7 separate regions of the Homo sapiens genome follow, and regions 2, 3, 4, 5, 6 and 7 are each linked to region 1. Evidence: promoter capture Hi-C in 16 types of primary human blood cells and fetal thymus (Javierre and others, 2016). All regions are on one chromosome and are shown on one strand. Each heading gives the region's core, a stretch centred on a gene start or on the middle of the fragment in contact. The rest is flanking DNA. Distances are from core to core; before and after follow the strand shown.

What was found. Contacts are between HindIII fragments. The CHiCAGO score rates a contact against its expected background, and 5 or more counts as called.
Region 2: a fragment that was not itself captured here is called in contact with the fragment with the promoter of GIN1 in region 1 in 1 of 17 cell types (non-activated CD4 T cells); the score reaches 6.1 in non-activated CD4 T cells.
Region 3: a contact is called between a fragment that was not itself captured here and the fragment with the promoter of GIN1 in region 1, in 1 of 17 cell types (activated CD4 T cells). The highest score is 6.8, in activated CD4 T cells.
Region 4: a contact is called between a fragment that was not itself captured here and the fragment with the promoter of GIN1 in region 1, in 1 of 17 cell types (naive CD8 T cells). The highest score is 5.0, in naive CD8 T cells.
Region 5: a contact is called between the fragment with the promoter of MAN2A1 here and the fragment with the promoter of GIN1 in region 1, in 2 of 17 cell types (total B cells and total CD8 T cells). The highest score is 11.0, in total B cells.
Region 6: a contact is called between the fragment with the promoter of RFESD here and the fragment with the promoter of GIN1 in region 1, in 1 of 17 cell types (total B cells). The highest score is 7.0, in total B cells.
Region 7: a fragment that was not itself captured here is called in contact with the fragment with the promoter of GIN1 in region 1 in 2 of 17 cell types (naive CD8 T cells and total CD4 T cells); the score reaches 8.1 in naive CD8 T cells.

The regions. Positions count from the first base shown.
Region 1 is chr5:103,118,663-103,122,453 of GRCh38, forward strand. It overlaps GIN1 (gypsy retrotransposon integrase 1), which reads right to left and starts at 1,476. Exons shown (of 8, transcript NM_017676.2): 1 at 1,402-1,476. PPIP5K2 (diphosphoinositol pentakisphosphate kinase 2) reads left to right here and starts at 1,639. Exons shown (of 31, transcript NM_001276277.3): 1 at 1,639-1,826. RefSeq lists enhancers at 612-1,113, 1,114-1,614, 1,450-1,709, 1,740-1,929, 1,980-2,039. The HindIII fragment of the contact is 9,897 bases long and covers 1,434-3,791 here.
Region 2 is chr5:95,812,387-95,815,588 of GRCh38, forward strand. It overlaps GLRX (glutaredoxin), which reads right to left. Exons shown (of 3, transcript NM_001118890.2): 3 at 1,463-2,003. Among named protein-coding and RNA genes, the nearest start is that of GLRX, 8.7 kb to the right of the region's middle. The HindIII fragment of the contact is 5,335 bases long and covers 1-3,202 here.
Region 3 is chr5:96,534,953-96,538,664 of GRCh38, forward strand. All of the region lies in intron 4 of LOC101929710 (a long non-coding RNA gene), which reads left to right. It also overlaps a transcript of CAST not described here. Among named protein-coding and RNA genes, the nearest start is that of PCSK1, 100 kb to the left of the region's middle. The HindIII fragment of the contact is 295 bases long and covers 2,141-2,435 here.
Region 4 is chr5:95,544,498-95,548,475 of GRCh38, forward strand. SKIC3 (SKI3 subunit of superkiller complex) reads right to left here. Exons shown (of 43, transcript NM_014639.4): 4 at 2,564-2,654. The coding sequence starts at 2,653. Among named protein-coding and RNA genes, the nearest start is that of SKIC3, 8.5 kb to the right of the region's middle. The HindIII fragment of the contact is 219 bases long and covers 1,983-2,201 here.
Region 5 is chr5:109,687,261-109,691,176 of GRCh38, forward strand. It overlaps MAN2A1 (mannosidase alpha class 2A member 1), which reads left to right and starts at 2,667. Exons shown (of 22, transcript NM_002372.4): 1 at 2,667-3,292. The coding sequence starts at 3,158. MAN2A1-DT (MAN2A1 divergent transcript) reads right to left here and starts at 3,839. Exons shown (of 1, transcript NR_186543.1): 1 at 541-3,839. RefSeq lists enhancers at 1,323-1,991, 1,751-1,850 and silencers at 1,961-2,250, 2,261-2,780, 2,811-3,020, 3,431-3,530. The HindIII fragment of the contact is 3,132 bases long and covers 1,524-3,916 here.
Region 6 is chr5:95,644,665-95,648,382 of GRCh38, forward strand. RFESD (Rieske Fe-S domain containing) reads left to right here and starts at 2,113. Exons shown (of 6, transcript NM_001131066.2): 1 at 2,113-2,153. The HindIII fragment of the contact is 4,150 bases long and covers 1-2,422 here.
Region 7 is chr5:94,613,983-94,617,967 of GRCh38, forward strand. All of the region lies in intron 1 of KIAA0825, which reads right to left. Among named protein-coding and RNA genes, the nearest start is that of KIAA0825, 2.6 kb to the right of the region's middle. RefSeq lists an enhancer at 3,636-3,985. The HindIII fragment of the contact is 2,445 bases long and covers 1,514-3,958 here.

The sequences.
Region 1 (3,791 bases), core at 226-2,725:
TCACGAAAAGCATAGCCTTTGAAGTAGTTAAAAGTTTTACTGCTAATAATTGGTATTCATATACAAAAGTAACGTAAATGAAAGTTGTTTTTTTTTTTTCAAAGCCCATACATATGAGAAAATGGCTTGAAACTGTAATATTCGAGACAAATATAAATATCTTCTTATACTCTGATTGCTAAGTAAAGGTATCATTTACAAGGGGGATTAAGTGGTTTCTACTACATAAAGAAAGACTGTCCTGGGACTTCTTTGGATATGCTCATATTTTCAAGAATTTCTCTTAAAATCATTACTTAATGTACTTAAACATGTAGGAATAAGAAAAAATGAAAGTGATTGATTACAACTTGTAGTTTTGCAAGAGGAATGTCAGGGTCACATTTGGTTAAGCTTTATACACTTTGTCCCCTCCATAAAAGCAAATAAAATCAACTCATTGCTTAATTCCTTTAATAATTTTGTGTTCAATAAAGTAAGGCAGTTAGGTATTATGTCAAGATTAGGACTTAACTGTTTCACCAAGGGTTAAAAACAAAGCCACCAATTTAAGCCCCTAAAAGGTTATAATACCCGCTGGTTCCATCTTAAAATCTGCAATTTTCAATCAACATGTTAACTTGGATCGGAATTCTGACATTTGAATTATTCTATTTTAAGCTCCAAAAAATGGACACGCACAATTTTATGCAACGTCAAGGACCTGTAAATTTAAATACACTTCTCTGTAATCTGGTTCACTTCAGAGTACAAATTCATTGAACAAAAAAATGCCTTCATCGCCATATGCATTCACATGAAGCCACATGGGATAAATGCATTTCCACTTTAAAAAGTATCTACTTTGGTTCAGAAATGCCCATTTAAGAAAAACCTACACTGAGATAAAGTGGACATTTTTCTTTTAAAACTACGTGACAGGATTCCCTCTTGACCTCACGTTTCTCCCCGCCACGTATTTAAATTTGGGGCAAAATTTCTGATTAAATGACTGATCAAAGTAATGGGGAGAATTCTTCAACGCCGGCCAAAAGTGCTTAGTCTCAAACGCTGTGAGGGAGCATTTCCTAAGCTTTGGGCGACTCGTTAACGGAATCTTAAGGGCAAGGTCCAACCACACTCAGAATCAGCAGGAAAATGACCGTTTGGTAAAACTCAATTACACCCAGTAGGCACCTCCCCAGGCCCGAAACAGCACTCGCCCTTTCTGCTCAGCTAGCGCGGGACATCGCAACGCCCAAGGCCCTCCTATCTCAAAGGCGCTTGCGCAAAATCTCCCCACAGACTCAATTAAACCCTTCCTTAGGCCGGTCGAGGCGAATGGTTTTGAAATTACTGTCGGGTTACGCCTCACTTTAAAAAACAGTAGGTATGACACAGCACACCAGAACGACCACTCACCGAGGTGGTCCTAAATTCAAACGACAGATTTAAGCTTCCTCTCGTGATTTATCTCGCGCTGCCGGAAGCGGAACTACCCGGGTCCTTTAGAGGGCAGTCCTTTGGGGAACCTTGGAACCACGGTCAGAAAGGTTAGGACTGATCATTTGGCTCTTGCCGGAAATCGTTCCGCCCGGTGAGGTTTCGGCGTGAGACCCGAGGAGGGCGGGGAAGAGGCGTGACGGAGATTCCTGAGGTGTAGTAGCCTGAGGTTCCCTTATGTGGCCCTATAGCTGTTACTGAAGGAAGTAGCCTACGTCCACGCCTACAACTGAAGTCTCTTGACAAACACCTCACCCCTGCCTCCGGGATGAAAGGGGGTAACCTAGACCTGAATGGGCTTGACCATCTCACAACTGCTCGCGTGACGACCGCATTCGTGGCAGGTGAGGGCCCAAAACCGGAGGAGAACCGGAGATGCGGAACCTGATCATGCCAGGGTTGAGGCGGCTGCTGGGCTTCTGCTTTGTCTCCTGTGCTCTGCAGACCCTAAACACATGCTCCACCGAGGGGCTTGTGCTGGAGAGAATGACAGCCTGGGCGTGGAGTGACAGTACAGCTTTGAGGGTCCTTTCGCGCCTTGATTTCTCCTCCTGCTCCCCCATGGCTTCCCTTTTTCATTTCTTGGGTTCGAGACGCCAGAAATTGAAGATCAGCTAAAAGGGAACCGCTGAGCTTCTACCCCACGCTGTGCCTGGCTCCACTGAAGTGATTAGCCTCGAGTTATGGGACTGCTGTGGGTAGAGGTGGCTTTTTAAAAAATTTTCTGCCTTAGTCTTTATCCCTCTCTCTGTCAACCCCACACCCACTTTAAAATAACAAAAGCCTCATGTGTTGCAGCTTTTCATAGTAGGGACCGAGGCTGCAGGGCACTGCCGCACCTAGTCATTTGGAGGTCGTTGCAGCCTTCTGCGCCTTGAAGAAGAAGGGGCCAGGGTGATGATCCCTGGATCTCATTCACGAGGTTCTTGACCACTTCCTGGGAGATTGCGACTCTTGGTGTCCTTTGGCTAGTAGTTGTCTTGCTGGAAGGCTTAACTGTGGAAGTGGGAAGCATAGCTGACCTTAGCACGTAAAATCCTCGCTCTACACTGGGACAGGATTTTGTTTTGCTATTGAGAATTCTTAAATGAAATAGATAATTTTTTTGTCTCAGATAGATAAAATAATAACGATAGTTGCCATTAACTGAGTCTTATGTGTGCCGAGTGCTTTACATAGTTTGTCATTTATTCCTCTCAACAATTCCAGGAGGTATGTTAGATTATTATCACCATTTTACAGAGTTAGAAATGGAGGCTTTGAACAGTCAAGCAACTTGCTCTATTAAACATTTGTTATAAGTAAACGTTTGAATCTGTGTTAAAAACCAGATCTGTCTGCCTTCAAAATCTGTATTCTATTGTCCTGTCCTGTTCTTCCTCGATTTCAATTTCTTCACTAACATTTTCAGTGTCTGAAAGTATCCATTCATTTAAAAAATTTTGGTGTACCTACTTATATGTCTGACAAAAGTTAGACATGATCTCTGTCTTTATGGAGCATTGTGATGCAGAATTAAGTAGTGCAGAACCCAGAATACTGTACTTACTGCAGCACAGGTTTATTTAAAGCAAATGACTAAACTGATTTGCAGAAAATTTTAAAATCAAAGGTTGCTGTTTTAAATGTTAAATTCATATGACTTTCAGAGTAGTTGTTGTGAGGGTATTAAACTGAACAATTGGTAGAACATCTGTTGATTACCCAAATAAGTGCTATGAACCAAGTTAAGTAGTGGGAATATATAGATTAGGTCCTCATTCTTTAAAAGCTCCCATGCAACCACAATATAGACAATGTTATGGACTATTAATTTTCTCACGTGGAAAAGGAATTGTGGTTATGTAGGAAGGTGTTCTTATTTTTAGCAGATACATACTAACGTACTTAGAGTTGAAGTGTGTTGATATCTAGTACTTTCAAATGGTACAGCAAGTGTATGTGTGTGTATGTGTCTGTGTGTATAAATAGCAAATATGGCAAAATGTTGGCAATTGTGAGTATAATGGTGGGCATATAGATGATTAACAAACTGTTCTTTCAACTTTTCCGAATATTTGAAATTTTTCATAATAAAAAGTTGGGGAGGAAAAAACCCAACCCTGATGGAAACAGATAAGTGAAAAGATAGATCCAAAATGCTGCGGAACATAGAAGATGGGAGAGGGTTTTTATGTGTATTTGGGGCCTAACAGAAGTGTGATAGTTCTCAGGAAAACCTTCACTGAAGACCTTTCAGTTGGTTTTTGAATGGCGGATAGGAACTTTCAAGGAGAGCAGTGAATTCCAGGCAGAAGGAAATGCAGGTT
Region 2 (3,202 bases), core at 1-2,500, 7.3 Mb before region 1:
GCCCTCTGCCGTTACCATATTTCTGGGGGACACCCCGTTCTTGGCTCACACAATAGCCTCCCTGATCGTGGGGTGCCGTGTTTCCAAGGACTCACTCAGCACCACTTCTGCTTCCCCAGAAGAGGCTCTGGAAAACTTCCAAGGGATGCCGAAGCCAGTCTATAACTCAGAGTCAATGTTCAGTTTACCTGTTCTTGGGATTGTTCGTCTAATTGTGATATCACCTTTTTCTTACACAGCTAGGTCGGTGTTATTGTTTTTCAAAAGTAAAATGTATTGCTTAGAGATATTATAAGGAGTAAAACTATAAAGTATCAGAATGATTACAAGAAAAATGAAGTAGTGGTTACCTCTATGGAGGGATGGAGAGAGGGAATACCCTTGGGGAGGGGCACACGGCCCTGTAAGGTACTTTACCAGGACCTGGGTTTGAGGCGGATAGAGCAGGAAAGACTTTTAGTACTATTTGGCTTTTTAAACCGTATGCATATATTGCTTTGATAAAACAGCTCTTCTATGCTGGGAACTGGGTTTCCATAGTTAAGTCTAGGTTCTTGCCTTTGGGTACTTTTTTTTGGAGACAGAGTCTCGCTCTGCTACCCAGGCTGGAGTGCAGTGGCACGATCTCAGCTCACTGCAACCTCCACCTCCCAGGTTCTAGTAATTCTTCTGCCTCAGCTTCCCGAGTAGCTGGGACTACAGGCACGTGCCACCACACCCGGCTAATTTTTCTACTTTTGGTAGAAATGGGGTTTCACCATATTGGCCAGGCTGGTCTCGAACTCCTGACCTCATGATCCACCCGCCTGAGCCTCCCAAAGTGCTGGGATTACAGGTGTGACCTGCCGCGCCCAGTCACCTTTGGGTACTTCTGAATTTGGCAGGAGACCAATACAGATGATTAACTACAACATAGCCTGATAAGAGCTGTAGAGTATCTACATGCACAGTGTTTTTGAATTCCAGAAGAGGGAACGATGATTTTTCAGTCAAAAGGCCATGAGAGGAGAGAGAAAATATAGGGGAAATGATCTGTAAATCAGGCCTTGAACGAGGAGGAGTTTCAAAGTAAAACAAAGAAGAAAAGGCATCTCAGGAGAAAGAAACACAATGAACATGGACAAAGAAGTGTGAAAGTGCAGGCAAGTGGTCCAGAGTGGATCAGATACTATAACCTCCGGTGGGAGGGCTTTCATATTGTGCAGTGTGTAAACTGAACAATTATCCATAGCAATCCTGGTGTAAACTGAACAATTATCATAGCAATCCTGGTTGAAGGGAGTGGTTAGGGCCCACAAAAGAAAGAAGCGAGAAGTACAAGGGCCTTAAGTGGGAAATGGCAAAAAGGAATATGAAATGAAAAAGACTGTTATTAAACCCTAAGCATTATTCAGTAAGCCAGGGCTGGCATTTATTTCAATATGAAATTTCAAAATTATATCAGCCATTTGTACTCAGTGAGTGACAGCAGCACGTGTCTTTATTTATAATGGCAGGGCCAAATATAAACACAGTTTTAAGTTAGTGTATTTCGCATAACATTCCTTAATGTCTTGAGAACATGCAAATGAATTGGACAAAAATCACTGAATCATCTATAGGTTTTTTTTATTAGAAAAGAAATTAAGTGTTGTCACTAGAGATTGAAGGAAATTAACAATCTTACAATTCTAGAACAGGCAAACTTCATGATAAGGGATTCTTAAGTTTTCAAAGTGTAGGAGCTCTTTCACAGATACACTCTTGGTGTAGGGGGCTGTAAGTTTTATCAGATGTTTTACATTTCATGCTTTAATCTTTGCTGGTAGTCTAAATAAAATAAATACACAGTGTTCAGGATTATCTGGATAGCCATCTTAAATAACAGAGTGTTCCGCATGACCACAGCCTCTGCACTTGTGCCTCTGATCCATATGACACCAAGACCAACTATGCTTTTCATATGATTTCTCCAATTGGGTCCTGTGACCTTTCACAGAATTGTTGAACATTTCCTATGAGATCTGTGGAGGACAAGGTGGAGAACACTGGTTCAGAGCAGTGATTTTCAAGGTGGGATGGGATGGGGTGGAGTTGAGTGGAGAGATGCATGTAGTTAGAAAGAACACATTCAAAATACCCACTGATTTCATAATACAAACTCCATAAAGTCAAGCAGCAAAATGATTTTAGCTAATGGGCAGTAGCAGATAACCAACTGTGGATTCATCATTGTGGAGAAGGAGTCTGGATAAACATAGTTGAAAAACACTGGCTTAGAGGTAGAGACATGCCGACACATGGAGAACAGTAAGAAACGCATGCCAAAGAGGACAATTGAGGGTCAGTGAGCGAATCCTGGGCCAGAACTTGTCACAGTCTTCTGAAAACCAAAGAGCACATCCAGAAGAAAACCAAGATGGCCCGTCAACCTTCTTGGCCCTGTGATTAAGAGCAAGTTGGTCCACTTTTAAATACTGAGCCAAAAGAGGAAAAAAGCTGTTTGTGCCCCCAAATTCATCCACCAGAAGTGCTGTCATCATTTGCAATGCCATCCAGCTCTTGAGGAGGGACGTCAGCATGGGGCCTGTTCTGCCAGGAAAGAAAGAAGGGATCTCCTTGTAAGGCAAAATCCTTCCTTTCTCTCATTACCAGAACACTTACACCTGCCATTTAAACACACTCTGTTGCAGATGGCCTTGAGATGCAGCTGCCAGTAAAATACTGACAGCATAGAACACTGAAGGAAAAGGCCAAATGCAAATAAGGAGACTTTCTGAATATGGGGGACTCTAATGCCCACACCAAAATAGAAGCAGTTGGAGAAATAACATTTCCCATCTTCTCTCATTCTTAATCTAAGCCTAAATTGCTAAACATGTCCCAGAATAGGAAACCATTAATTGGGTTTGAGTGCTTTTAGTACCAGTGGTAAGGCCAGGAAGTGAACTCAGACAGACATAGGGTGCACCTGCTGTGATGATATCGTAGAATTCTGATTAGAAGATTTATAGCATTGACTATTTCATTTCAGAGAAATCAGTGGTATTTTTTCAGACCTTTTTCCCCCTTCTGTTGCTATGCTGAGTAACCATCACAAATAATGTATACTCATTGCCCAAGAAATGAGTTATTAATTAGCAGGCAATAGATACCCCTCCAAGAACATTTTGGTTAAAGAACCATTCATTTCTCCCTCAACTAAAGCAGCATTTACATCTCT
Region 3 (3,712 bases), core at 1,038-3,537, 6.6 Mb before region 1:
GAAAGAAAGAAAAAGAAAACTACAGTAGGCATTATTGGCTCTTCAGGGAACAATATTTACAAAGCCACAATAATGTAAACATTTCATTGACTTTCAGTTTTTAGAATCAACTTGTAGGCCTAATTACTCTTACAGAACAAATGGCATATAGTATCAACCTTGTAAATTCAATAAATACAGAAAGCAGAGAATGAGAGGAACCAGTGGAAAAAAGAAAACGTGGGCAGAAGCCTAATTTCCCCACCTTAGCAAAAGTCAAAGAATGTTACCTAAGGTTGATGTAATAAGAATATGACAGTGTTGGCATTTTGCTAAATATTGTAAGGAAACAATAATTGGCACAGCGAATACTGAAAGCATAAGGAAGAGGGAAATGGGAAGAATATAAGGGAGCTAACTTTTCATTTATCATTGTGGAAGCAAAGATAAAATGTAAAAAATCAGTATTTTAAAAATGTTATTTAGAAATATGGAGCTAAGTGAACAAACAGCTTTTTAAAATTAGAAAATATTGCCTCTGGGGAGGAAGAACAGGCATAGGACATGGTGGCATGAGTTGCCAGGTAAAATATAGGAGACTCAGCTAAATTTGAGTTTTATGTAAATAAACAATTTTTTTTTTTTTTTTTTTTTTTTTTTGAGACGGAGTCTCGCTCTGTCGCCCAGGCTGGAGTGCAGTGGCGCGATCTCGGCTCACTGCAAGCTCCGCCTCCTGGGTTAACGCCATTCTCCTGCCTCAGCCTCTCGAGTAGCTGGGACTACAGGCGCCCGCCACCAAGCCCGGCTAATTTTTTGTATTTTTGGTAGAGACGGGGTTTCACCGTGTTAGCCAGGTTGGTCTCGATCTCCTGACCTCGTGATCCTCCCGCCTCGGCCTCCCAAAGTGCTGGGATTACAGGCGTGAGCCACTGCACCTGGCCAAATAAACACTTTTTAAACCTAAGTATGTCCTCAGTGGTACCTACTTTTATTTGTTAAAACCGACAATTGAAGATACTGTTGTTTTGTTATGAGGAGCCCTTTAGTACATTTAAATCTTTTAACTATATGTTAAATAACCATATGTTAAATATTTAAGGTTTTTTTTTTTTTTTTTTTTTTTTTAAAGAAAAAGGAGGAGGAGGGCTGGGTGCAGTGGCTCAGGCCTGTAATCCCAGCACTTTGGGAGGCCTAGGCGGGTGAATCACCTGAGGTCAGGAGTTCAAGACTAGCCTGCCCAACATGATGAAATCCCATCTCTGCTAAAAATACAAAAAATTAGCCAGGCGTGGTGAGAGACGCCTGTAATCCCAGTTACTAGGGAGGCTGAAGCAGGAGAATCACTTGAACCTGAGAGGTGGAGGTTACGGTGAGCCGAGATCGTGCCACTGTACTCCAGCCTGGGCGACAAGAGCAAAACTCCGTCTCCAAAAGAAAATAAAAGGAGGAGGACAGTGGAACAACAGTATCCAAAGGCAGTGAGATGTTGAATAGATGAAGTTGTAGACATGCCTGGTGTATTTGCGACATGGAGATCAATGATGTCTTTGACAAGAAAATTTTACTGGAGTGATGGTGATGCAAGTTGGTCTGTAGAGGATTAATAGGCGCATAGAAGTAAGGAAGGAGAGGTAATTATAGAAGTGGAAAAGAGTAAGGTACAGGTATGGCAGTTGAAGAAAATCCATGGATTTCCAGAGTGATGATACATTTTTCTTTCTCTATATTCATCACATTTCTCAAGTAAATCTTTTTTGAGCTGTCCTATTAAATCTGTGCATTATGACAGCTTGGAAATTCTAATCATAATTTGGGATAATACCATGAGAAATGCTCCCCTCCCAAATAATTGAGTAGGTAATGGTCTGACATTTTGATGGAGGGATATTTGTAACAGTATAAATTTTTTTTATAGAAAGAAGGAAGCAAGTAAGAATATAACGTGTGATTTAAATCAGATATGGGGCAGGCATGGGAACTTCTGATCTCATTTCCACTGATAAAAGTTATTAAGCCAAGCTATCTTCTCCTATGAGCACCCAGAACTCTAATTCTCTTATAATTTGAATCTACCCAGTGCTCAAATTAAGCACTTAATTATGTATGGTCTTGGAGAAATACAAATACGACTAAAATATGGAGGCTGCTTCTAAAGAAAAGAAGCTTTCAATACAGTGGCTGGAATATTTGAACTTCCCTGACTGCCTGCTGCCTTGTTGGCTTCATGCCAGACTGAAGCCCACCCTTGCTGAGCTCTGTCCCATATCCTCTTCACCCAACTCAGTTACCATCCTTCACTTCGCCCAAAAGCTACTCTTACTCACAACTCTATTTGAACTGGATTCTTTACCAAAAGATATAAAACCAGTCTGCCTGTTTTCAGCAGATTTTATTAAAATGTCTGAACACATTTTACTAAAGTTGAAGCAATAGACTACCCCTCCTGCCCCCATTTAAGCTTTCCAAGTACTCTCTGTTCCCCTTCAGTTGTGCTATGATTTGAAAAACCATCTAATTTGTATTGCTGGAGTCACATACGTGTATGATGAGCCATTGATGGCCTTGAGATGAGAACTTTTTATTAAAACACTTCAGTTACTATACTTCTGTGAGCAACACAGGAAGAGAAAAAAAAAACTTATCTTTTCAACTCCCATGGCAACTGACTCATCATTTCCTCTCCAAAGAGGTTAACCTCATCTCATTTCACTGTTCTCCATGTCACTATAGACTCTGCCATCTTTGAAGCGGCAGAAAAACAAAGGGTGGATAACTTTCTCTTCCTTTGTTTTAGAAGTGCTGCTTCCAGGAGTAATCTGATTGTCACTCGGTCACTTGGGCCATGGTTCTTTTTTCCCAAGACCAGTCTCAGCACATTTTCCCCATCAAAACTGTAGATACCTAATTTTTATATTTGCTAATGTTTTTGAGGGGGGGAGCAAAATTATATTGTATATCATGTAGCAAAAGCATCCTTTATATCCATATTGATCCTGTCAACTCCTCCCCTAAAATATCTCCCTGCAGTAGCTTTCATGCTTTCAGCCCTCTCTTTCACTTGGCCTCATTCTTCTCCACCTCTCTAGTAGGCAGGCTCTATCTGTTTTCTCTCCCACCCCTCTGAAAACCCCAGTCAGAGCATGCAATCTACACACAAGGCAAAGACTGGTTAAACAGCCAGCAAAAGAAAAACTGTTTGTTAGACAAACCAGGTCACCTGGTGTCCTTCAAGCCTTCCCGCGAGTAGCTTCCTTTCAAACCTCCACATAGGTTATCAAGAGCAGTGTCAAGTTCTAGGGATGGGCTCTTTAAAGGGATACAATTACCAGTTAATTTGAAGCATCTAGGAAAGGAGGTGAGTGAATAGTAATTGATAGAGGTATGAAACTACGTAGCAATATGTGGATATGATCCTTATATCATACCTATCTGAAAGTAAAAGAATTTTGCTTTTCTCATATTTATCTGTTAGAAAAGATAAGGTTTGGAAAGCCTTTTGGAAATCAACTTGCTTTGGACATCACTGAAAAGCATGCAGATTAAAAACAACAAACACTAGGCTAGCAAAGTAAATGACCAATTACCTAAAAGCATTTGAAGATGTTATTAAACTTTGGAACATCTCTTGAATTTCTGAATTGATAATATAGTCAGAATTAATGTGCAGATTTGGAGATGTTCAAGTAGTTAAAAATGGTCCTGGACTAACCTCAATCTTGTTTTGCAACATCTG
Region 4 (3,978 bases), core at 842-3,341, 7.6 Mb before region 1:
GCCTGTGTGTGTATGCCCCAAATTGCAATTCTTGTTTCCCAAAATAAAATTATTTATTTTGACTTCAACATAATAATGCTGCCTCCTAACAAACCACAACAATGATGTAACTACCAAAGTTAAGCTCTAAACACTGGGGCCTTATTAATGCTTATGTTCCCAACACCAGGTACAATGGCTGGCACTTAACAGCTGAACAAAATGCCATACTCAACCAGCAATTAGTTAAGTACTGACTATCTGCCTGATGACCAGGTTTTCAGAATCCAAAATGGATGTTTAAGAAAATGATTATCAACAATGTGGTGAAGGCAGGTATGAGATTCTGAAAGAACATAGAGAAAAAAGTACCGAACTCTGCATAAACTGGAGAAGGCTTCCCTGAAGGGATACTCATACCATGTGATAAAGCGCCACAGGCAGACAAGGTGATGATCAGACAAAACCACAGCAAATGCAACATTCCTTTACTCAAAAATTCATTTAGTCTCAACCAATATTCTGGGTTACTACACATTAGTAATCAGGCATTTATAACTGATTAGCTATCCATTTGCATTTTCTAATTGGGTCTCTCTAGTATAAATTATTAACTATTTGGTGGAATTAATATCTGAATTTTGCAGAAAGTCTACAGGAAGAAGACAGCTATGGTGGTGCTGTATATAACTGAAACGTGCATCAATTAGATAAACCTAGTGCTGAAGGAAACAGTCCTTCTTCCCTTCTTGTATTCCATCCACAACCTGTCCCCACTTGGAACACACTGCCCACCTTCTTCTATATCAAGATTAATACTATCACGTCCTTGCATCCCTGCTGGGCTCCATCAGTCACCACCAGAAACCTAAACCTCACAAGGGTATCCTTTACCTGTTTACTCCTTAGACTCATCCTCATATTGCCATGTATACTGCCCAGTCTTGCCCAATTCCCTCCCTACCACTCTCCTAAATTCTTCATTGTGCCCTCTGGAACTCCCAATCTGGGTCAGCCAAGTTCCTTCCATATTTTTAACCTTTCTTTTAACCACACCAAGTTCTGCCTCAATGAAAACATGGCTAATTCCCCTATACATCCTACAGATTGCAGATGACTTCTTTTACAGCTCACATGCCACAGGCCTAGAAGGTGAGAAACTGCTTCTTGCTCACACTGTCTGTCACCTACAGTCCTCTACTGCTCCTTCCTCCTTCAGCAACCCCACTACCTTTGAAGCTCAGGCCATCCAACTATACTACTAAAAATAGCCTTCTTGTTGCTACAGTCTACCACCTTCCTAATTCCCCTTTCCTTCAGTGAAAATTCTGTATCCTTCTTTTCCACCTCAGTGCCTGTATTCATGTTGATATCCCGTTGAACACTCTGGCCTCTCAGTTATGTGACCACCACACTACTCACCCATCCAAAATCTGAATTTCCAGCACAGTACTATTCTGCTCCTCTCTAACCGTCCCAGTTCAATTACTGTAGTGGTCCCATGGTAACAAATCTTTAACCTTTGGTTTCTCTAATTTTTTCTATCCTAAACGCTTTTTCCATTGCCTATCAGCCCACCTCTCATTTCTCATTCCTCTTTACCCAGCTTAGACTCCAGGGCTCACCACTGTCATCACTCCCTTGTCATGTCTTTCCTTTGCATGTCTTTCCTTTCTTCTTTCTCTCCATCCATACTTGAACCCCATCATGCCCATCTCCAAACCTGAGAAACTGAATACAAAGAGAAAAACTACAGCGGAGTTCACTAATTTCACTTTAATAGCTTGAAACTTCAAATGGGCAATCACTAGGGCCTGCTAATCTTTCCAATCCTTACTAGCAAGTTTCTTTTCCCACCATGAGAAAAAAAAAAAACAAAAAAAAAAACAAAGAAAGAAACTATTTCATACCTTCTGCTATCTCAAACCTCCTAACCAATAACCAAGTCTTCTCCCAGTCTCATCTTATACTTTGCCAAGAAAATAGAAGCCATTAGAGAAGAAAGCTTTTCCCAACACCAAATCTATAAGCCCAACACTGTATGGATGGGCACCTATCTTCTCTCCTGCTAAGATGGAAGAAGGATTAAAGGGCTCCCTCAAGCTCTGGATCCCAGTGTGTCTCTCACCTACTGATGACTTCACTCCTACCACTACCCTCTGTCTCTCCCCCGAGTCCAATTTCTCCCTCTGAATGGAATCATACCCATCAGCATAAAAATAAGCTTTATAATCTTGGTCCTCTCATCCACAAACCAAATAGAAATAGAACACTAACATGCCATTAAACAATGAAAACTTTAAGATACAGTAGCATTCCACGATACAACCATCAAAAGATATTTATGGGATATTCAGGTTTTAAGAACTTGGTTTTGTTAAGTTACCAATACAGAGAAAGTTAAGTTTGGCAGAGGTAGTTTATCCTGCTAACTAGAGGTTAAAAGTCCAACCATTCTAATGGTTCTACTAAATGGCCTTACCACTTTTGCTGTTTGGACAGGAAATAATTCACATATTACAAATCAACAATGTTTATAAATGGGTAACATACTTTCATTGTGGAAGAAAAAAATACTGGTTACCTTACAGTGTTTCAAAGCTTCTTTGTATTCTTTGTTTCTGATTGCATCTCTAGCACTTTTTAGAGCAGTCTTCACTTCCTTGCTGGACATTCTGTCAAGGCAGAAAGCCTGAGTAAATCTACAGTAATACCTACCCAATCGTAAATGTTCCAACAAACTTAGCCATCTGAAAAGGGACCCTGGAAAAGGAAAAGACTCCTTCTCTCTGGAACAGTCTTCCCTCTAGAATATACACAGTTTATTCCTTAACCTCTTCAGATCTGTACTCAAATGTCACTTCCTCAATGAAACCTTCCTTTGACATGCTATTTAACATTTTAATCTTGCCATCCCCCTACTCTCAACAACCCATTATTTCCGGAACCCCTTCCATTGCTTTATTTTTCTTGAAAGCATTTGTCACATTTAATATACTATATATTCTACTTATTTATCCTGTTTATTTTCTGGGTCCCAACCCCACAAGAAGCTAAGTTCCATGCAGGCAAGAATTTTTTTTTTCACTGCCGCATCCCCAGGACCTAGTATCTTAAATTATAGATGATCAATTAATAAGTGTTGAAATTGAGTTATATTTTATTTACATTCATTCTCTATATATTTTGGCTAAAATACAAATGATCTTGTTGATCAGGACTCAAAACACATACCAATCTCAATCCAACTCTCCCACTCTATACAAAGCTAGATCCAGTAGAATAAGCCCAAGTCACAGATAAAACACTAACACAAATAATTTCAGTGACTGTGATATGAAAGTTTAAGAAAGCATTGTTTTAATGCTAGTTTCTGTGAAACATAAATCAAGATATTAACTTTCTTCACAATAAGGATTACTGTAGGTTTATTACCTGTACTTTTTCTAAAGAAAAACAATGTTTAAACTTGAATGGAAGCAATGGATAATGCAAAAGGGTTGTATACTAATTTCAGCCATAAAAAGATATTTTAATTAGTAGAGAAAGTATTTCTTCATTTAGTCTTAAGATATATTAATTTTAAATAAATTAGCATATTTTAAGATTACACAACTTATTCTGGCTTACCTATAAACAAGTCTAATTCAATCATAATTCAATGTTGAAAAAAAGAAATATTTGTATTTTCTGTCAGCTCCTCTAATCTCATAGAAAGGTAAAACAAAGCTGGGGTAAATATTAAGTATTTATAGGCTTCAGATGCTCAAGGGAGTAAAATGTACCAAAAAGATGAATCACTGACATGGTACACTGACAGTCCTTTATATCCAAAGAAGAAGCTAACACAGAAGTATGAGACCAAAGAAGTTTGAGAAGTTAGATACATATTTTTTAATCTTTTTGACTTAAAAAATGTTAGGATTCAAAATAATAGAAAAATTAAGATACCATAAAATCAATTTATCTACAGCTAGAACCAGATTCCCTAAATAGGCA
Region 5 (3,916 bases), core at 1,417-3,916, 6.6 Mb after region 1:
TGCAAGATCCTTCTTAAAGGGAACACAGATTCTCTTTCAACCAAGGGACTATGGGTCTGTGAATTGACTTAGGTCTGAGAACTGAGAGACTGTGACTATCCACTGTGGTGACTCAAGTCAGGTTTTGGCTACCTGACTTAGATCTTTTTACCTGTTATAAATATCAAGCAATAATCTATTTCAACTGCCTATCTATTTTGTTCTCAGAGCAGCTCCGTAAGCCAAGGCAGTCTGATTTCCTGCTGCCCTTTAAGGTACATGTGCGCCCACCTTGTCTTTGTTGGTTATGTGCTGCCTGGTTTCTGCTATTCTGAGATCGTGTCATCCCCATTGAAATCAGGGAGCCCATCTAGATAGTGGCATCCTCTATAGTCAAGGTTTTCAAGCAAGGCTAGTCTCTTTAGACACTGGAGGGCAACCTACTTCCACTGATAAGAGAAAGAGTTGGCGTGTTTAAGATTGTCGGTTTCATCTGGGTCCAACCCATTTCAAGTATTGAGATTCTATTATTAAAAAATAACACCATTTTACACGAAAAACTCAGAATATGTGTGAATTTAATAGCAGTTATAATTCAGTAACATGAAAATTAAAATTTTGTTTGATTCTCAGCATAATTCTTGTTGCTACAATAAACCAGAGCTTTTGGAATTCTGCAGAATATCTCTGGTTCTCATACCATAACTCTGAGAGTTAAAAAACCTGTGCTTGTCATTTCTCTTTATAACCACTCAAAAGCACGCAAAAGAATCCATCCCACACCAGTCTTTCTAGTCATCTTTATAACCATAGCAGTCAAGTGTAGCAGCCACTTGGGGCCCCAAGGCACAGGCTTCAGTTGGCACTTCATCAGGATCAACCACAGGTAATTGCTTAATTGAGATGCCCAGCATGTCATGAATTACATTTCCCTTTGGCAAGGAGCTAAAGCTCAAAACCTCAATCAAACTGACCTTTAATCCCATCTTTGCAGGTCTATTTCTTGGGACTACTCCCGGGACAGGGAAGGCTTAATAAAAAGAATTGTTAACTATAATAGAGGATTAGAGTAATGAAGGATTCACTAGCAAGAAGAGAACTTTAAAGAATATAGCAACAGCAGCTATAAGGAGCTAACCTTATAACTAACTCTTGGGTTGAGAGACAGAGTGCCCAATGAAGAACCTCCCCAATTCCTCCCAGGGCTAAGATCTAGACGTTTTTGGAGAGGGCATGACCTGGCTCACTGAATGGCAGAGAAGTCACCATTGGGCTACGTCTGCAAAGCTTGTGGAAGATGTGCCCTCTGCAACTTGCTGCAAATGCCTCTAGGGTGCCAGGGAAGTTATTCATGGGGTAGTGTCTCACCTCCTCTACAAAGCTCCTAGAGTTGGGCATGTGAGAGGAAATTGCTAGTTACTGAGCACTATAGGACCTTGGCAGTGGAGAAAGCCAGGTATGCTGCAAAAGCTTATCAATACACAGAAATCAGGAAGCAAAATCCTTTTTTTCTGTAATGTCTCTTCAGCGCCCTCTGCTGATAAAGCTTCAGTCCCAGAAGGCAAACGAAAAACTGTTTAAAAGGCTCAGATCCGTTTTTACAGTGCAGTCAAAAAGGGCGAATTTGGAGCTGAGAGGCAATAAATCAATAACTGGCAGAAGCATCACTTCTCAGATTACACTCATGGATTTCGTAGTCAGATGTTTCTACATGTGCCTGGACGGCCCTTTGTCAGTCTCCTTTCCCCCAGGTTTTAACAGGCTGTCACCAAAGGAGGAAATAGTGAGCCCGAAGAGAATGTGCAAGCCCTCTTCTCTTGCATTTCCTCCAGCCCGTCACCAAGTACTCTTCCAGGCACGCCAGGCCCGAGTGTCCTAGGATAGGAAACCTGAGCAACAAAGGGAAGTGGGGTGTAAGCTCAACCCCTGTTGGACGTGGGGGTGCTGGCGCCTGAACGCCCCCGAAGGCCTCAACTCCCAGAAAGCTGCCTGCCAGGTCACAAGAGCCCTGTGAGGTCTTCCTATCGCCGGGACACTGGGAGGCAGGCGCGGGGCGGGTCCGCCGGGCGACGCGCTGTGATTGGGCGCCGTGGGGCCCGCCCCCTCATCTCGGAGCGTCGGGAGGGGGCGGGGCCAGCCGCCCGCTCGGCTCAGGCGCTGCGGGCGCCTATTGACCCAGCGGCTGCTGCGCCGCCGCTGTCTCCTCCTGCTCGTGGCGGGCGGTGCTGGAGCGCCAAGTGGCGCTGGAGAACCGGCGCTTCCTTTCGCCGCTTCCGCCGCCATCTCCGCGTTTGTGGGGCGGGAAAGAGGGAGGGGGCTAGCGGCTGCAGCTGGAGCGGGCTTCTCTCCGGGGACGGTCCTTTCCTCCCTGCTCTCCTTTTCCTTCTTTCCGCGTTGCCGCCGCCCGCCCCCTGCGCCTCCCCGCGGAGCCTGGGTCCGGGAGGGGGAAGGTAGGGGCGGCGGGGGGCGGGAGAGTCTGGCGAGCGGACGCTAGCTCTGAGGAAACTCATCAATCCGTGAGCCCCGGAGTCCGGGGTGCACATCGGCCCAGCCGCAGCGTCGGCGGCGGCGGCGGCAGCAGCACGAAGGGGCTCAGTCGGGGTAGGCGGGGGCGGTGCCGGTGCCGCGGGGGCGGGCCCGACCGTCCCGCCCAGAAGTTGTAGGGCTTGGCTCCTCGCGATCTTGTTCCTTTCCCCTCCGCTTCTCTGACCTAGCTGCGCGGCCCCGGCCCGGGAGCTGCCGAACCCGCGCCTCCCCTGGGTGAGGAGGACACGCCTGCCCTCGTCGAGAAAACTTTTCCTGCCGACTCAGTTGGGGCGGCGGTGGCAGGAAGTGCGGGCAGCGACCTCTCCTCCGCCTGCCCCGCGCGCCCTGCCGGAGGTCGGCGCTGAGCTTGCGATCAAGTTTGTGGGGGCCCCCCTTCCCAGTTGCCGGCGAGTCTCGCCTCGAGAGGGGCGCCCGACCCCGGGGAGGGCGGCAGGCCAGGGCGAAGGCCAAGGGCGTGTGGTGGCGCCGGAGACTAGGTGCGGAGCAAGGCGGGGACTCGCACCCGCATCCGAGAGCGCGGAGGTCGCGCAGCCCGGGAGAAGGGAGCCTCCGGCGGCTGCTTCCTAGAGTCCACAGTGCGCTGTCTCCTTTGGCTGAGGAGAGTGTCCTGGCCCCGAGTCTATCGAGGAAAATGAAGTTAAGCCGCCAGTTCACCGTGTTCGGCAGTGCGATCTTCTGTGTGGTGATTTTCTCGCTCTACCTGATGCTGGACCGGGGTCACTTAGACTACCCCAGGAACCCGCGCCGCGAGGGCTCCTTCCCTCAGGTAAGCACCTGGGAAGGGGGCGCGGGGCTCCGAGGGGCCAGGCGTGCGGGCCCCTGGTTAGCGGCTGCTACCCAACCTCTTCCTCCCGCCGCGGCCCCACACCCGTGCTGGGCGAGGCCAGGGGCTCTGTAGCTCTCGGACGGCAATGATCACCTCCTGGGAGCCACCTCGCCCGGGCGCGCCAAGTTAACAAAGTGCTGGGCGGCGTGCGGCGGCGGCGGCGGCATCATCCCGCTCAGGAAAGTGGCCATGTTCCGGCATTCGCACCCGGCCTGTTGGGGTGGCTTCGGGCACCTGCTGGCGGGGGAACGGGCGCGGCGTGAGGCACCCCCCGCCAGCCCGGGGCCCGCGTATCCCGGTGGGGTCGTTCTCGGCTCTCACAGGGTTAAGCCGCCCGCACCAGCCCAGAGCCCCTGAGCGCACGGAGTCGCGGAAATGGATCAAACCGAACCCACCTAGGCTTTTTTTTCTTTTTCTTCCCCGCTGCCTCTGAAGAGAGAGAAGTTTATTTCGTGTTGCGGCCCTTTTAGATGTGAATCTCTAGGTTGATTTTAGTGTCGTCATTCTTCAGCTATTACATCTGGTTTGTTTGTGGCAGACAGGGGGAACCGAGTGGGGAAGCGC
Region 6 (3,718 bases), core at 863-3,362, 7.5 Mb before region 1:
GAAATTATGAACTTTATTCTGAACAATAATGACTTCCAAATAGACTGGATGGGTTCTTGCTGTTACCTAATGTGCATGCCTGTGTGTGAATGGTTTTGTGCATTTGTGTGTGTGTGCACTTGGGAAGTGGAGAAGGGTAGTTTATTCTGACCTCCATTATAGCTTTCCAAACATCACATGACTAACCATATGAATACTTTTGGTAGAGATAAAAGAAAGTTTCTCTTCTTTCATCCTACTTGTGTGTATATGCATGTATAACTACTGAGGTCTTCAGTTTATTCAATATCAAATTTAAGGTCGATGGATCTAAGATGTGTCCTTTTTTAATGCCCAGAATATGACAAAGCAAAAAAGGATTTCTAAAATGGCAAACCTTATTTAATCCTTCGATGACAAGCTGGGGACTACTAACACCTTCCATGTGCCAATAAAATCATTTGGGATGACTAACAGATAATGGAAATTACAATAAATCAAAATATATTTTATATCTTTGATAACTGATACATCAAAACTAGATAGTTAATTTGTGTTTGGGTCAGTGAAAAAAATGGCCAAAAGGGAAATGACCCAATAAAATATTATTGATCACCATAAAACTGTATTGAAGAGAAAAAAAACAGAAGAAACTAGCACTGGAAACAAATTATTCTGAGCTATTCAACTTCTTACATGTTGAGGCTCATTTAAAAAATGGCATTTATATAGCACACTGAGGTAAATGGACAAAGTTCCTGGGTTTCGGCTGCCCCAGTTCATTGGGCCACCCTAGAGCCTGAGATCACTATGTCACCATACTAAATACAAGTTGTAGTGTTCAACCTTGGGTTCACACTGGAATCACTCAGGAAGTTAAAAACATACATTGAATCTGCCCACTCCCTTCCCACCCCAAATAATCTGTGTTTTATTTTGTTGGTCTGGCATACAGACTGGGCATTACGACTTTTCAAAACTCCCAAGCGACTCTAAGGCATAGCCAGGGTTAAGAATCACTGCACTGGAAAGTAGTCAAGGAAATTAAAAACTTAGGCTCATCTAGTTTCCCAGCTCGGAACACAAATATGAGGGTTTTGGTGGTTTTCTTTGTTGTTGTTGTTGTCAATTCAGGGAAGTACAATGAGAAAAAAGCAAAATTGCAAAGTTCATAATATGAAAGTGAAAACTCTCCATCTCCTCCCAAAGCAACCACTATTGTTTCTTTTGATTTTTCGAGAAAAAGTTTATGTACATACCTGCATGTTTGTATTTCAAAAAATAATTGTTTACATTAAAGAGAGGACACCATATATAGTATTCTACGCTTTGCCTTTAATATTCATTACATGATGGGCCTGTCCTTTGAGTATACAGTACACAGCTACGAAGTAATTCACATGTCTGTACTGTTGTGCTGTGTTTTATTGAACCATTCCTCCGTGTTATCACTTCAGCTATTTTCACTACTTCACAGCAATAAACATTTTTTTTTTTTTTGAGATGGAGTTTCGCTCGTGTTGTCCAGGCTGGAGTGCAACGGCGCGATCTCGGCTCACCGCAACCTCTGCCTCCTGGATTCAAAGCGATTCTCCTGCCTCAGCCTCCTGAGTACCTGCGATTACAGGCCTGGGCCACCACGCCCGGCTAATTTTGTATTTTTAGTAGAGATGGGGTTTCTCCATGTTGGTCAGGCTGGTCTCAAACTCCCGACCTCAGGTGATTCGCCCGCCTCGGCCTCCCAAAGTACTGGGATTACAGGCGTGAACCACCGCGCCCGGCCTTAACATCCTTATACATGGGTTACCAGCATCGCGACGACCTTCTGCAAATATTTTTATAGGGTAAATAACTGAATGAAGTCGCTGGGCGCATCTAAAATTTGAATAAATGTAATGAGATCAACAAACAACTAAAAAGTAAACTGATGCTATCCACATTTGTCAAGTACACGAGTATGCCTGCCAGTTTGAAGGTGCTGGCGCGGCGCTGTTGGCCAGAGATCTCTATCAACCAGGGTCATCTGCCGGCAATGCCATAGAGGCGGTCCCGGGGGCGGGCCTTCTTGGGTCACGTGGACGGCCTCGCCCCGCCCCCGTCGAGGCGCCGCGCACGTCTGGAGCTCTGGCTCGTGCAGTAGCGTCACGCGGAGGCGGAGCGAGGACTCGGGGACAGTAAGTTCTGTTCTCGCCGCGCAGGGGGCGGGCTGGCGGGACCAGCTGCTTCCGGCTGGGCTGCGGGCGTGGACTCCTCATTCCGGCTGTGGCCGCGCCGCTGCGGGGCCTGAGGCCCTCTTGGGTTTTGGTTCAGCGTTAGTTAACGGTTAACCCGCCAAGGCGGGCTTCCGCCCAGGCACAGGAGACTCACCGAGCTTGTTCACCTTGAAACTTGGGCCACACCTGAGACCTGCCACCTAAGGGGGGTACGCGGGTCGTTTTTAACAAGCTTTCATGGCATTTGTGCCATGAAAGCTCTAAAGTATAGAAGCTGCTCCAGGGCTTCCGCAGCCCCGGCCGTCCTGGAGATACTCGCCTCCTGGAGTCTGTGTCGAGAATTTGCAGCACCTGGACAGCCACGTGCAGTCTCAGAACTGCAGGCGGTCTTTACCGAAATGTTAAACACAACTTGAAGTTAGGCAGGATAACTGCCAGAGCTGGATGGACCTTAGAGGTGCCAGCTAACGCGCTGTGAGCGTTTTCTGCGGTTAGGCCTGCTCTAAACATTTGACATGTGTTAAAGCATTTATGTGCTTTACCCACACCCCTATGTGGCGGGCCCTTCTTAAAGTAAAAGAAACTGCAGCACAGCGAAGTTAAGCAACTTGCCCCAAATCACGCAGAACTGGGATGCAAACCCAGGTCTAGCTCACTCGTGATCACAATTCAACATCATACGATGGTGCTGATTTCCAGAGCAGCTCTGTGACTTTATATAAAATTATTGGGCAAGCGTTCAATTGTAAACATTCGTGAACATAGCTGTTGCACATTAGCGTTCCTTTTTTTTTTTAATTCAGGACCATCTTTGGTGACAAATATAAATATCAATACTATATATATCACCAATATACATATTTGCTTTGCTAAAAGGTTTCTGTGTCTTCAGGATAGTTTACTTGCAAGCCTCATGTTTTTATAAAAACGTGGGTGCTACCTGAATAAAACTAATGCCTACCCGTTGGCGGTTTTGTGAAGACTAATGAACTATTATATTCAAAGGGTCCAAGCAGTAGGCATTTACTAAAGGACAGCTAGTTTTATCTGTTATTATTCTGCCATTCAGAGAGATACCAAAACTACTCTCTAAGGCATTTCTCTTCCCTGCATGTAAAAGCAAGGGTGTCATACTTGAGATAAGCATTCTGATAATGTGTAGGCAAAGTTTCCACACTTGGTAAAAGCATCTTAGTCATGGTTCAAGACGAGTGACAAGTAAGTACGTTTCACTTCATGTTTCTTTTATCTCCCGTGTCTTGTGGAAATTTGAGTTACACTAAATATTTTTTTAAATTCCACTTGAATTTATTTCCTTTGTTGGAAAGGAATCTAATAGTGACCGAGTATCCATTTAGCTAATTTGTAATTTTATATGGAGTTAGCACCTTTAGAAACCAATTTTAGGGACAGGCCAAAAATTTTTCTCGAAGAGAACATGAAACACAACGACTAAGTTTTTCAGGGGGATGTTTTCAACTAGCCGTCAAACTGTATGAGTTGTTTAATTTTCTGTTTCATTCAGT
Region 7 (3,985 bases), core at 1,486-3,985, 8.5 Mb before region 1:
ATTGTAATAAGAAAATAGATACGAATATGTCTAAATATTTTACTATAAAAACCTTTATTGTACTATTACTTAACAGAAAGAAGTCAGTTTAAAAGTTATAACATATTCATAAAATTGAATAGCATACAGGCCCTAAGTATTATTTTATAGAAGCAAATTTATTGACATGGAAAAATTCATGGTATAGCACATTGAAAAAAGCAGGTCACAAGACAATATAGACAGTATTATTTCATTTTTATTTTAAAAGCACATATATGCAAATCTGTAATACAGAGAAAAATCATAAGTTATTTCTGAGTGGTGGGGTCATGGGCCACTCTTCCTTTCTCTTTCCTTTTTGGCATATTTGTACACTCTAATGTTTCTGTAACAAATGGGCGTTTTTCCATAACAAAGAAAACAAATGCCAACTCCATCCTCCACCCCATCCTAGTTATACACACAGATTATTGCTTATCGTTAAAAGCCTAACATCTCTAACTTGCCCACAGTTATCTACAGCTTGTCCTAAACTCAGCTTTTTACCTCAGCTTTATTACCAGCCTTCATCCATCTTACATAGCCAAAGTGACCTAGGTACTATTTCTGTTTTCTGACACCTTTGCATCTTCCAGTAGAACACTTGTCCCTCTTGTTCCCCTGCCAAAATCCTTTCCATCCTATATGGCACAAACTCAATATTACCTTTTTTATGAGGTCTTTCCTCATCTGCCCTCCTGGAAAAAAAAAAATCTCTTTTCTTTGCATTCCCATGTTTTGTGTTCAATGATGTATGTAAATTGCCCTACATATAATTATTTGTTTATATAACTTTCTCTCTCCTAGTAGACTGTAAGTGAAAATATTCTTCACCTTTGTCTAATTTATAAAGCATTTTTCATATCCACTAATCTTTTATCCTTGCAAGACTGAGCAAGAAAAAGAATCAATATTTATTTATCAGCAATTGTGTATCAGACAACACGTTTGAGGCTTTATAAGTCAACCCACTTAACGCTCACAGCAATCCTATGGATCCATTTTACATATGAAAACATAAGCTCACAAAGGTTCAGTGACTTATTAGTGTCATAGCTGGTAAAAAAAAAAAAAAAAGCATGGCTGTGATTTTTTTAACTCTATTCTTCCTATTGCAAAAACATGATTGTGTGTCCACCAATGTGGAAGACGTGAACACATATAAAAGCTTACATAAAACACATCAAAATTGATGAGGGTTTTCTGGCACTCCAGAACTGCTATATTCAGATAATACTTAGGAGTCAACTAAAGTCAGAGGATTTTTGAGGTAGGAGGGACCTTACAGATAATATAATCCATCAAACTCCTATATGTTATAGATGAGAAACATGATACCCAGAGCTTTTGCACACATTTAGCAGCTGAACCAGGATTAAAAATTCAACTGGAGGCTAGCAAAGTGGTTAAGATTATCGCTTTTGGGATCAGAGCCCTTCATTCAAATCATAGCTGTGTTTAATGACTATGCGTAACCTACGACAATTTACAAAGCTTATCTTTGCCTCAGTTTTAGCATCTGTAAAAGGAGGATAATAATACTTACCCACTGTGCTGTAAGGAGTAATTTAACACTGAATAGCAGAGAATAAACACAGAAAAATATTAGATATTCTCTCATCTCCTGTCTCACAGTCCAGTCTTCTTTGCAGGACAGCACATTGCCTTTTATGAATGAGTGTGGAGTGGACACTGTATTTCAGGGGCAAGGTGAGTAAAAATAAATATTTATTTATGTGGTAAATCCTTTAAAAAATGTACAAATACTTCTCGGTGGATAAATAACATTTTAAAAAGGAATCATTCATTCAATAAATGCTTATTTTTTATTTTTTAGAGACAGGGTCTTACTCTGTTGTGCAGGCTAGAGTGCAGTAGTATGATCATAGTTCACTGTGACCTATGTTTATTTATTAAAGGAAGTATAGAACATAGTAAAAAGAGCCAAAATTTAGAGGATCTGGATTCAAATCCTCTTGCCTTAGCCTCCCAAAGTATTGGGGTTACAGTCATGAGTCATGGTTCCTGACTTATTTATTGAGCTTCTATTACACGCCAGGCACAGTGCTAGATGCTGGGTTTGAGATGACGAACAAAACAGACATAATCCCAAACTTCATAAGCACTGAAATTTGATAGCAAAATATCCCTGAGATCTGCCTACGGGATCTGCCTACAAGTCAATGCAATGTAATCAAATACACATTAGTATTTCAGGCTAGCTATACCTATACAGTTGTAAAACAGGATATTCTTTAGAATTAACTTCTATGTCATTTCTAGTATTGGTCATTTCAACTAAATTTTTGTAAATTCTCTGAAAATTAGGCTATTTCTGTTTCTCTATATAGAATTGGGTATTGGGATGGGCAGGTTTAATAAAGCATATTCCTGAAACTATGTGATAATCCCCATCTGTTTGAGGGTTACGTGAGTGGAACAGCACAGTTTTGCTAATAATTCCTTATAAATCATTACAAAGTTGAATTTTATGAATTTGTGCTCATTTACTCATTCTTTCTCCCTACACACACACACACACATGCACACACAAATATACATGTATACAAATGTGTGTGTGAAAAGCTGTCTAAAGAGATAGTTAGCTGATACTCTGGACTCAGTCACCAATATGCTTGCTGATGGTCTCCAGATCTTCTGCATTTGCCCCAAGTGTTATGCTAATGTACAGTATAGGCATTTGTTTGAATTAGGATAATAAAACTGGCCAAGGATAAAGGCACTAAAGAAACTGCATTATTTAGATGTCAAAATTACCTTATGGTGATGAACACATCCCTTAAGTCCCTTTTATCCTCAAGTTTTGCTATCCACTTGATTTCTAAATGTGACATACTATCTATCCATTTTTACCTGGAGTGAAAATAATGATACTGTTATGTTTACTTATAAAGGTATAGAGCACAGTAAAAAGAGCCAAAATTTAGAGTCAGGTAGACTGGATTCAAATTTTAATTGTGCCATTTAATTGTATAATTTATGGAAAATCACAACCTCTTTGGGTCTCAGTATAAAATGTTTTGCAAAATAGAAATAATACAATTTTTGTGATTTTCTTTTTTTATTAAACATTAAATAAAATAATAAATGTAAAGTGCCTGGCAGACAGTATCTACTTGGGGTAAGTATTAATGATTGGCTACATTCAAGAGCAATTCAAAGAGAGAAATCACTGCCTCTAAAAACTAGTTGCTGTACAGATATAATACATAATATCCCTGAAGTAATTTATAATACTTTCAACTGGAGAAATAAAGAAAAAATACAAGATTCAACAAAATGTCAAGATTGGGATTAATGGGGCGATTATAAGTTTGTTGAATTATTAACCAACAAGGCCAGAAAATCAATGTGCTGTCCTAAATATGGTTTGTTGCATTACTCTCAAAAGGTTAAGAAGACACTGGCCTGGTGTTAACAGGGGCCTTGAATTGAACATATTGCATTTTTCTTTATCGGTATGCTCCGATAAAGAAAATGTTTTTATGGGTATGAGGAGCATACCCATAAAAAAAATGCAATAGTACCTACAACTCTTTCGGGAACTGACTGTTTTGAAAAAATAACAGTCAGCTGCCTTTTACGGGGGTTGGTGGGGAGGTAATTATCTAAATATAAGGTGGCAAGTGAAAACTAGTTACCTAAGAAATTGCATTACTTAAGAGAAGTCGCCAAGGTTCACTACATCACATCTTTCAAATCTTAAATGAGCACCTTTCCTCACATTATCCCTTTGTCGGAAGCAATTTCTCTTTACAACTATTCTGGCTACCTCAGACCTCCATCCAAAATTCTCCTGAATCCTTCATTATCGACAAAGCCTGGAGCAGAACGCAAGCATTCCTTTCTGAAAGCACACATACTTACTGATCACTGCTTTCCAAAAATGCATCTAATGCCCAAGCATGAAATTACAAGCTTGTTCTCTTATGTCTCAGCCATG